3 separate regions of the Homo sapiens genome follow, and all the other regions are linked to region 3. The links are contacts of gene promoters, found by promoter capture Hi-C in human tissues and cell types (Jung and others, 2019). All regions are on one chromosome and are shown on one strand. Each heading gives the region's core, a stretch centred on a gene start or on the middle of the fragment in contact. The rest is flanking DNA. Distances are from core to core; before and after follow the strand shown.

The links. The method cuts DNA at HindIII sites, captures the fragments that hold promoters and counts their contacts. A contact is called where the count stands out against the background at its distance.
Region 1: a fragment that was not itself captured here is called in contact with the fragment with the promoter of OTOR in region 3 in 2 of the 25 tissues and cell types used here (heart right ventricle and hippocampus).
Region 2: a fragment that was not itself captured here is called in contact with the fragment with the promoter of OTOR in region 3 in 1 of the 25 tissues and cell types used here (pancreas).

What each region holds. Positions count from the first base shown.
Region 1 is chr20:16,549,139-16,552,843 of GRCh38, forward strand. The region is part of intron 1 of KIF16B (kinesin family member 16B); the gene reads right to left. Among named protein-coding and RNA genes, the nearest start is that of KIF16B, 22 kb to the right of the region's middle. The HindIII fragment of the contact is 5,263 bases long and covers 1-3,705 here.
Region 2 is chr20:16,511,150-16,514,910 of GRCh38, forward strand. KIF16B (kinesin family member 16B) reads right to left here. Exons shown (of 26, transcript NM_024704.5): 5 at 1,677-1,774; 6 at 269-378. Among named protein-coding and RNA genes, the nearest start is that of KIF16B, 60 kb to the right of the region's middle. The HindIII fragment of the contact is 3,147 bases long and covers 357-3,503 here.
Region 3 is chr20:16,746,742-16,750,356 of GRCh38, forward strand. OTOR (otoraplin) reads left to right here and starts at 1,617. Exons shown (of 4, transcript NM_020157.4): 1 at 1,617-1,775; 2 at 2,126-2,265; 3 at 3,162-3,269. The coding sequence starts at 1,661. The HindIII fragment of the contact is 9,309 bases long and covers 1-3,615 here.

The DNA.
Region 1 (3,705 bases), core at 1,083-3,582, 200 kb before region 3:
ACTAACTCGTCATCTAGCATTAGGTATATCTCCCAATGCCATCCCTCCCCCCTCCCCCTACCCCACCACAGTCCCCAGAGTGTGATATTCCCCCTCCTGTGTCCATGTGATCTCATTGTTCAATTCCCACCTATGAGTGAGAATATGCGGTGTTTGGTTTTTCGATCTTGCGATAGTTTACTGAGAATGATGATTTCCAATTTCATCCATGTCCCTACAAAGGACATGAACTCATCATTTTTTATGGCTGCATAGTATCCCATGGTGTATATGTGCCACATTTTCTTAATCCAGTCTATCATTGTTGGACATTTGGGTTGGTTCCAAGTCTTTGCTATTGTGAATAATGCCGCAATAAACATACGTGTGCATGTGTCTTTATAGCAGCATGATTTATAGTCCTTTGGGTATATACCCAGTAATGGGATGGCTGGGTCAAATGGTATGACTTCAAACTATACTACAAGGCTACAGTAACCAAAACAGCATGGTACTGGTACCAAAACAGAGATATAGATCAATGGAACAGAACAGAGCCCTCAGAAATAACGCCGCATACCTACAACTATCTGATCTTTGACAAACCTGAGAAAAACAAGCAATGGGGAAAGGATTCCCTATTTAATAAATGGTGCTGGGAAAACTGGCTAGCCATATGTAGGAAGCTGAAACTGGATCCCTTCCTTACACCTTATACAAAAATCAATTCAAGATGGATTAAAGATTTAAACGTTAGACCTAAAACCATAAAAACCCTAGAAGAAAACCTAGGCATTACCATTCAGGACATAGGCATGGGCAAGGACTTCATGTCCAAAACACCAAAAGCAATGGCAACAAAAGACAAAATTGACAAATGGGATCTAATTAAACTAAAGAGCTTCTGCACAGCAAAAGAAACTACCATCAGAGTAAACAGGCAACCTACAAAATGGGAGAAAATTTTCGCAACCTACTCATCTGACAAAGGGCTAATATCCAGAATCTACAATGAACTCAAACAAATTTACAAGAAAAAAACAAACAACCCCATCAAAAAGTGGGCGAAGGACATGAACAGACACTTCTCAAAAGAAGACATTTATGCAGCCAAAAAACACATGAAAAAATGCTCATCATCACTGGCCATCAGAGAAATGCAAATCAAAACCACTATGAGATACCATCTCACACCAGTTAGAATGGCAGTCATTAAAAAGTCAGGAAACAACAGGTGCTGGAGAGGATGTGGAGAAATAGGAACACTATTACACTGTTGGTGGGACTGTAAACTAGTTCAACCATTGTGGAAGTCAGTGTGGCGATTCCTCAGGGATCTAGATCTAGAACTAGAAATATCATTTTCGTTTTTTTTCCCCCTAGAGAGCTTGTTAAAACACATGAAACATTCTTTTTTTTTTTTTTTTTTTTTTTGACACAGGGTTCACTCAGTCACCCAGGCTGGAGTGCAGTGGTGCGATCAGAGCTCACTGTAGCCTCAACCTCCCTAAGCTCAGATGATCCTCCCACCTCAGCCTCCCAAGTAGCTAAGACTACAGGTACATGCCACCATGTCCAGCTAATTTTTTCTATTTTTTGTAGAGACGGGTTTTCACCACATTGCTCAGGCTGGACTCAAACTCCTGGGTTCAAGTGATCCACCATGACCTCCCAAAGTCCTGGGATTACAGGCATGAGCCACCACGCCTGGCCGAAACATGCATTCTAAACTAGAAGTTTTAAAATAGCATCCCAGGGCTAGAACGGGTGTTCTAAAACATTTTTAATTAGTTGCCAACATATTTAAAATAATATTTTACATGAGAGCCTGGATTTCCCACTTCTCTCAAAACACAGGAATGAAAATGCTGGCTGATGTGATGAAAATAATCAAGCTTACTTTGAACAAAACATGATTTAACCCAGCTAGGAGCACATTAGGTTTGACTGTCCAGGTTTTCTAATTTCTTATTTAGGATTTAGTGAAGAAACCACCAGTGAGGGGCTTTCTCTTCTTTTTTTTTTTTTTTTGAGATGCAGTTTTGCTCTTGTTGCCTAGGCTGGAGTGCAATGGCACGATCTCAGCTCACTGCAACCTCCGCCTCCTGGTTCAAGCAATTCTCCTGCCTCAGCCTCCTAAGTAGCGGAGATTACAGGCACTCGCCACCATGCCCGGCTAGTTTTGTATTTTTAGTAGAGATGGGGTTTCACCATGTTGGTCAAGCTGGTCTCAGTCTCCTGACCTCAGGTGATCTCCCGCCTCAGCCTCCCAAAGTGCTGGGATTACAGGCATGAGCCACTGTGCCTGGCCGAGGCGCTTTCTCTCTCCTTTCCTCCTGTCTTTCCAGTGTGGGCCGCATCTCTCCAGCTTTCATTCCTTCTGACTCCTTGCTGGTGCCTGTACCTCCCAAGGCCCTAAAGGTGTGCAACTTTTGAAGAATGAGGCTGCCAATCCCTGGAGCTGTAAAGCAGGGACAATAATAGCAGGTTCTTATCATTGAAGAATTCATCCCAGAATCCTTGAAATCGAATACACTACCACAGTTTGCAGACAGAAATGAAAGAAATAACCTTGTCCTTAAGCCAGAAGGGCTTGAGGTAAGAAAGCCCTCTGATATCATCAGTGTTCCTTGCAATCAAGCATAGACAGAGAGCAACACAGGCCTGGCCTCATTTCTGTGGCTCAGCTGACCAAACAGTCTGTGCCCAAGAAAGCAGGCCCCCCTCCCACGACAGCTACAGGAGGGCAAAGGAAGGCTCAAGTTGCACCTGGTGGGACAGTTACACCTCTAATTTAGACATCATTTCAAAGAAGGAGGGTGGGCGTGGGGGCGCGGAGCTAACATATAATGTAATGCTACCCACTGTCTGAGGCCAAGAGGGCTCATCTTGAGATAACGTGATGACATCAAATGAGCAGTTCTACTTCTGTTTTACTCACGTCCTCAACTCTCAAGCATCACTCTTCCACTCTTTTGTGATTAATCATGCCTTTTAATTCAGCCTTGTCTCTCCTGCACATGGACACTTCCTCTGAGTCCCCCTTAGGTTTCATGGCTCTGTCTGCATTTTCAAAGCTTGACAAACCCAGCTCAGCACTTGAAATAGGAAGCTCCCTAACACAAGGAAGCCTTTAGCTTCCTATAAGTCATACAGAGAAGGGAATTGAGAACAGCTACATGTGCCTCTGAAAATAAACAAGTGGATAAAATCATATCACGCTGAAGCCAGAGAACTCAAACTGCTGGTATCATCCCAGCATATGCAATATTAACACGCAGCCATTATGAGCTTCGTTGAGGTTTTCAGGTGAGGCCTCTGGGCCTCCCACATGCTGCTCCATCCACCACTACACCTGTTGTCCCAGGCTAGTCTCCACTTCAGGTCTGTCTCTCCAAGTACCCTTCCTGATGCCACAAGTCTGTTAGACCCAACCCCCCACCATGGGCTTCCACAGCACCACAGCATCCAGTACAACAAAGGCAAGAACTGTGCCTAGCTTGGAGACCACTGTATCCTGACACGCAGCCCAGAGGTTTTTAAAGGTCTTGGGGGGCTCTGCAAGGTTAAAATTATTTTCATTATGACACCAGCATATTATTTGTCTTTTTCACACTCACATTTCTGATAGCTAAGGAAATATGTGCTTATATATTCCTATGTTTTAACTTTCTATTTTAATTTATTATTTTTTTTTAAGACAGAGTGCAGTGGTGTGATCTTGGC
Region 2 (3,761 bases), core at 680-3,179, 240 kb before region 3:
GCCTTACATTTGGAAAAGAAAATTCCAGAGATTTCTTAAAGACAGAGGAAATCTATTGGTAAGCCTCATAAAATCAACGGATGGCCAGTGAAGTATAAATTCACTAACGGAACATCATGTAGTGACAGCTCATGACATTCTTACTATAATAAAATTCCAAAATTAAATAAATTTTTAAAAGCTCACCATTATGCTATATTTTTTCATTGAAAGTGTTATTTTTACATAGATCACAAAAAGAATATGGCTGTGAAATATCTACTCTTACCCTCAACATAAGGGCCTTCTTTGGGATGCTCACGGACTCTCAAATTGAAGGTTTTAGATGACTTCCGCCGAAGTAGATCTCTCACACGTTCGTTATAAATTTCTAAGTAGCTAAAAATTTAAAATAAAATTGAATTCAGAAAAATGATTTCAGACATTAATATCAGTAACAACACATAACAGCAGCAACCTGCTGACATAAATGGCCACAGCAGCAGTTACCATTTATGAGTGGTGACTGTGTATCAGGTACAATGAGTCCTCACTTAAGGTCATTGACAGGTTCTTGGAAAGTGCAACTTTAAGGGAAAGGACATACAGTGGGTCCTCAAATAACAATGCTTCCTTCAACATCATATTGCTATAATGTTGACGAGAAAAAGAACTGGTTTCATTATATGTTGTTTCACTTAAAGTCACGATTTCCAAGACTGTATCAAGAAGCGACATTAGGCCAGGGGTGGTGGCTCACGTCTGTAATACACTTTGGGAGGCCGAGGCAGATGGATCACTTGAGGTCAGGAGTTCAAGACCAGCCTGACCAACACGGTGAAACCCCACATCTACTAAAAATATAAAAATTAGCTGGGTGTGGTAGCGGACACCTGTAATCCCAGCTACTCAGGAGGCTGATGCAGGAGAATCACTTGAACCTGGGAGGTGGAGGTTGCAATGAGCCAAGAGTGTGCCACTGCACCCCAGCCTGGGTGACAGAGTAAGACTCCATCTCCAAAAAAAAAAAGGAAGGTACATTAAGTGAGGACTTCCTGTACCATGCTAAGTACTAGACATGGATTATTTCATTGAATCTCCACAATACCCAGAGATAGGTACCACTACTATCCTCATTTTATAGGTTAGGCAAGGGAGGTTTAGTGTGATTCAAATAACTTGTCCAAGACCACAAAGCAGTCAAGTAGGTGTAAAAATCCTATATTGCCATGTCTGCCCTTGAAACTACCGAAGAGACTGGCTCCCCTCACAGGTTTAATTTCAAGGAGGAAAAAGCACCTCAACCACTCAGATTTACTTGTAGATTAGATTTATAATGATCCAACCAACACAAAGAATAATATAAACCTTACTAAGCTAAAAGAATGAAGCAAGTAATTGGTATACACTTAAAAGTCAGAAGCTCACTCCATTTGAGATGAACATCCCACATTAGTTTCTGCCCAAGCTGTTATTTCTGCCAGCTCCCAAATCTTTATCCAAACTGTACCCAAGAAAATCACTAAAAACTTATGTGTTTTAAGCTTTATCCCCAAACCATAATCACAGGAGGGGAAAAGGGAAGACTTTTTCTTTAGGAATCTAAAGACCTTATCCATTTCCAGCACCTAAATGCAGGCCAACCAGCATTGACTCTAATCAAGCTCACACACAGTTACCCAGGCCACAGGCCCTACCTGACTTCAGTTCGAAAAGAAGCTTCATCCCATCTGGTGGTTTCATTTATCCGACTGAAGAGTCCTTCACAGATCCGAGGTATTAAGCCAGAATCTCCCTGCATGGGAAAGACCAATGTCACAGCTGTCACTCAAAATAAAAGCAACTGATGACTGAATTTGCAATTTGCTGGCATGAAGTTAGACTCAAGTGACCTGTATGCCAACCCCTGGCCTACCACAGCCCACGCCATATACCCCCTCCAGGGCTGCTTTCTACTCTCTGAAATGAGATGATTGAGCCTTCTGATTTATACAGGCTGGGACTCTGATAATATACGGTTATCAGTTGTTAGTTAAATCATGGCTTACAAACAAGGAAACTTAATTTCTAACATTTAAATAAGACAGTTTATAACTGTACAATAAATGTTAAAAATACATGCTCAAATGAACAAGGTAGGTGAAATACACACCAGGCAAAAAAACACCAAGAAAAACTTAGCAATCCCCACGGTAGTTAATAATTGCCTTAAAAACTTAGGTAACAAGACCACATTAAAATCCATGCTGGCCGGGTGCGGTGGTTCACACTTGTAATCCCAGCACTTTGGGAGGCCGAGGCGGGTGGATCACCTGAGGTCAGGAGTTTGAGACCAGCCTGGCCAACATGGTGAAACTGTGTCTCTACTAAAAACCCAAAAAGTTAGCTGAGTGTGGTGGCACATGCCTGTAATCCCAGCTACTGGGTAGGCTGAGGCAGGAGAATCGCTTGAACCTGGGAGGCAGAGGTTGCAGTGAGCCAAGATTGCGCCATTGCATTCCAGCCTAGGCAACAAGAGCAAAACTACGTTTAAAAAAAAAAAAAAAAAAAAAAAACCACATGCTATGTCCCTCCTTTGACAGAGTAACCCCTACCCTGGCCTTCCTCGATGGAAAATTTTAATACACCATATTATTTATACAATGTGGGTATAACGTTCAATAATGTTCATGTTTCAGTCAACCTTAAAAAGCTGATGAACCTCAGAATATAGTAAAAATCAGGCAAAATGATCTTGCTAGGAAACCAAGGCAGAGCATCAATGCTTTATTCACATGTTCCCTCCCTACCTTCACTCAACCCCCACACCCAAAAAAATAAAAGAAAGCATGACTGTGTTCAGAGATTGTTTTTTCTTTGTACCATTAAATCAGTACTAATTCTTAACAAGGAAAAATGAGTCTTACGTCGTATTTTTGGTTCTTACTTTAAAATGAAGAAAGGATACCCAAGCAGCACTCAACTATAAGATTGGAGAAAAACACTTGTAATTTGTGAGTGCTTTATAAATGTTTGACTTACATAAAATAGTTACTAGGGAATCAACATACAAATTTCACTTTTGGAAGTTTTGTTTTTTTTTTCCAAAGGCACAGTAGGAAAGGAGGAAGTGAGAAGTAATGATAAAAGGAAATGTGAAACTCTCGAAATTAGCTGTTTGTTCCTCTCATTTGTTCTTCCCTTTTCGGAGAAGACTTCCCGAACAGCACTTACTGACTTCTTGTGTAAAGGAAGAGCCTGGATGTAAGCAGTGAGGTTACATGTCCTGAAATAATTTATTCTGGAAAGATCTGTCTTCTAACACACGACTTCCATGAACCTCCAAACCTTCAGCATTACAGACACCACATGTGTGCCAGCAGGAAGCCCTCAATCATCTTCCACTAGTGTCTCTACATCTCAAAAATGCCACAGGTTTGGCAGGCAATGAACAGAGCTCTCACTAAGAAATAAGAAAAAAAAAAAAAAAAAAAAAAAACAGGCCAGGCACAGTGGCTCACGCCTGTAATCCCAGCACTTTGGGAGGCCGAGGCAGGCGGGTCATCTAAGGTCAGAAGTTCGAGACCAGCCTCGCCAACATGGTGAAACCCCGTCTCTACTAAAAATACAAAAATTAGCAGGGCGTGGTGGTGCACACCTGTAATCTACTTGGGAGGCTGAGGCAGGAGAATCACTTGAAACCAGGAGGCAGAGCTTGCAGCGAGCTGAGATCGCACCACTGCCCTCTAGCCTGGGCGACGGAGTGAGATTCCATCTCAAAAAAAAAAAAAAAAAAAAAAAAA
Region 3 (3,615 bases), core at 367-2,866:
GGGCATGGTGGTGCACACCTGCCAGCCCAGCTACTTGGGAGGCTGAGGCAGCAGAATTGCTTGAACCCTGGAGACAGAGGGTGCAGTGAGCCGAGATTGCACCAGTGCACTCCATCCTGGGTGACAGAGCAATACTCCATCTCGGAAAAAAAAAAAAAAAAAAAAAGCAACAAAAAACAAAAAGACCACTCTGGCATTTGCTGTGCCTCAGTTTCCTTGTCTATAATGAAGGTATGAATAAAACAGACTTTCCAATCAGGACCAGCTATATAAAAGATCCTCCCTTGAAAGTCACACACACATACACACACAGCCACACACACACACTCACACACAGCCACACATACCCACACCCATACCCACACCAAAACTCTTTTACATACACACACAGATGCACTCAAACCAATACAACTCTATCACACACACACATATACCCAAAACAAAAAACCTTTTTATTATATTTTGCCTTACCCATTTATCCCTTGGGAAATTGTATTGCACAAAATTATTTAGTAAGTTAAATTCTTGTCCCTCATTTTATGAGGTTACGACTTTGGGGTTGGGGGAGAAGGCACTGCTCCGAAGTCACATCATCAACCAAGGTGGAGAAGGCATCCTGAGAGGATCTCTATTCTAGAAGCAATGGATAAGAACAGGGGAAGGGCCACCTTATGGGAGAGATGCCAGCCTCAAACACCCTATAAAAAGCAGTAACTTACTGTCTGTCTCTTCTAATAGAAAGCAACACTTGGGGCCAAAATATTTTTTTTAAATTTACTGCTATATCTTTAGTGCCCAGAACTATACCTGGCACAGTAAGTGCTCAGTAAATATTTGCTGAATAGACGGAGCTAGGGACTGGCGGTTCCACTTTGGTGCCTCTAGGAGTGCTCCTCTCCCCATGGGAAACATGCTCAGAAGCAGGAAGTTCCAGGTAACATAAACTTGTAACTTCACTCTCTTCTCTTTGACCTGTCACCCTTGAGCATTTGAGACTGAATTGCAAAAGTCTTAGAGAGAAGAGGTAGGGGAAAGATTGACCTATTTTTCCCAACCCACCCATCTCTTTCCCCACTGGTAGGGTCTAAATGGGGCATCAATTAGTATGTTAGAATTCATCTCTAGCCTGGGACAGGCATGCCTTCTAAGAATCCTATCATGAAAGATTTGTAAGCATAAGAATCTTTCATTTATCTATTACGTAAATCCAGATTTATTAATTGAATTTGTTTAAATCAAATTATTTGTGCTATAGATCTCACATTTTCAACAAATTCCTACAACTAGTATGTCTTTGCTCATAAGCTGAAGGAAAATTAGGGGTGAATTAAAACTAAAAATGGTTTGAAATTCTCATAGTCCTCTCAGCAAAGCCCTACTGATTGATACAATAGACCACTGCTAAAGCGGCTTTAACAATAGTGGACCATTTTGGATATTATCTGTGTATAGAAAGACACAGAGTTTGACTCTGTTTGGAAAATCAGACGCTAAATAGCCCCTGAAGCCGAGCAGCCTGTTATGAAAACGGAGGGGTGGTAGGCCCTTCTAATTGGCCAGGGTATTTACCCAGAGCTCTGGCTTTCACATAAAAGGCAGGAACCACTGAAGTCAGTCCCCGCTTCCAGTCAGAGTTCAAGTTAAAACAGAAAAAAGGAAGATGGCAAGAATATTGTTACTTTTCCTCCCGGGTCTTGTGGCTGTATGTGCTGTGCATGGAATATTTATGGACCGTCTAGCTTCCAAGAAGCTCTGTGCAGATGATGAGTGTGTCTGTAAGGACTTTTTTATGCTTTTCATTATCTTTCTATTACATAATTGAAAATATATCCACTAATAGCATAAAATCGAATTATACTTTGAAGTGAATCTTCTCCAATGTGTATGTTATCAGCTTTGTTTCTTCTGGTCTGCATGTTTGGTATCTTACTACGGAGAATTCACTTGGCTGAGTTTTGTTGCAGCTTTAATATCTTGGCTGTCTTCTTTCTCTTGGATAGACACCAGCTATGAACTGGGAATTATCAGTCACTCTGATTTTCTAGTTTTTCTAATATACATTGCCTTTTACTGTTATAAAATTCAGGAGCCTAAAATGTAATCATTTAAATTTTTTTTCTTCCAGATACTATTTCTCTGGCTAGTGCTCAAGAAGATTATAATGCCCCGGACTGTAGATTCATTAACGTTAAAAAAGGGCAGCAGATCTATGTGTACTCAAAGCTGGTAAAAGAAAATGGAGCTGGAGAATTTTGGGCTGGCAGTGTAAGATAATTTAAACACCTATTGACGAATATTGCTCTTAACCTTTCCTTGATTACCTACCTTCAACCTATTTTAATGCTTAATACTAGTTGTTAAGAACCATGTAGTGATTGTAGATGGAAATGCAAAAATTCAGGTATATTTGCTATTGCATTTTAAAGAAAGAAAGATCAATTTCGTAACAAAACCAAATGTAGGTTAATGTGATATTTTGGTAAAAAAAGAGTCAAATACATGGGGGCTTAAACATCCCAAAGAATTTGAATCTTATCCGAAAACGTCTGAGAAGATTTGCCAAGTAGAAGGCATGTGTGTTGGCAGTGAGTCTAAGTATCAATATTCTTTTAGGAAACTTTGCACCCTAATTAATTCGAAAGAATCAGCGTTCTTCAGTTAAAATATACAGGGGCGGTCCCTGGGGAGGGATGAAGCAGGGATGATTTTCTGTCCTCATCTGCAACCCTAAAGGTAAGTTCTAAATTAATGAAGGATTAAATTTAAAGCCATTTAAGTCTGTTCATTTGAATTGTTGAAAACTGAGAAATTTGCATCATTTAAAATAAGTGTCTACAGTACTTTAAAAAAATGTACTGTCTTTATATATTTATTTATGGGTTCAAAAAAGATTTCAGGCAACTCACAAGATTGCGTAAAATAAAGTCATGCTAAAGTAGCGAAATAAGACTGGGCCACTAAACAGTAGATGCACAATTCCTGCGGGTTAACTTAGTGCTCCAAGTAAACTTCGGATTTGCCGCAGCGCCCCCTGGACCCCGGAGTGAAAGGGAGGTATTGGCAGCTATGATTCTCACTATCAGCAAAGAGGACGCCTGCGAGTTTCTCAGAAGACACTCAGCATCAGCTTTTTCCTGATTGCTATTCTTCTGGGCACTTAGGTTTATGGTGATGGCCAGGACGAGATGGGAGTCGTGGGTTATTTCCCCAGGAACTTGGTCAAGGAACAGCGTGTGTACCAGGAAGCTACCAAGGAAGTTCCCACCACGGTAAGCATCTCAAAAGTGACTAGACAAGGACTCAGATCTTGGGGCAATGTAGGCCGGTGTTAAAAATGCATCATGCAACTTACAAGTTGTATAGAACAAAGCCTCCAACTTTCAGTGGCGACTTTTCTGAGATAATGAGGTTTGGGGGACCATTTATAACTACTGTCAAAGTTGAAAGATGAGTAAACTTTCTCTATACCACCCCCTTTTGTTTTATTTCAGTTTACTACTTTTTGTCTCATCTTTTTTCTATATTTTTTCAGCTTTATTGGGTTATAATTGACAAATAAAAATTGCATACATTTAATGCATACATTATGTTTTGATATACATTGTGAAATGATCA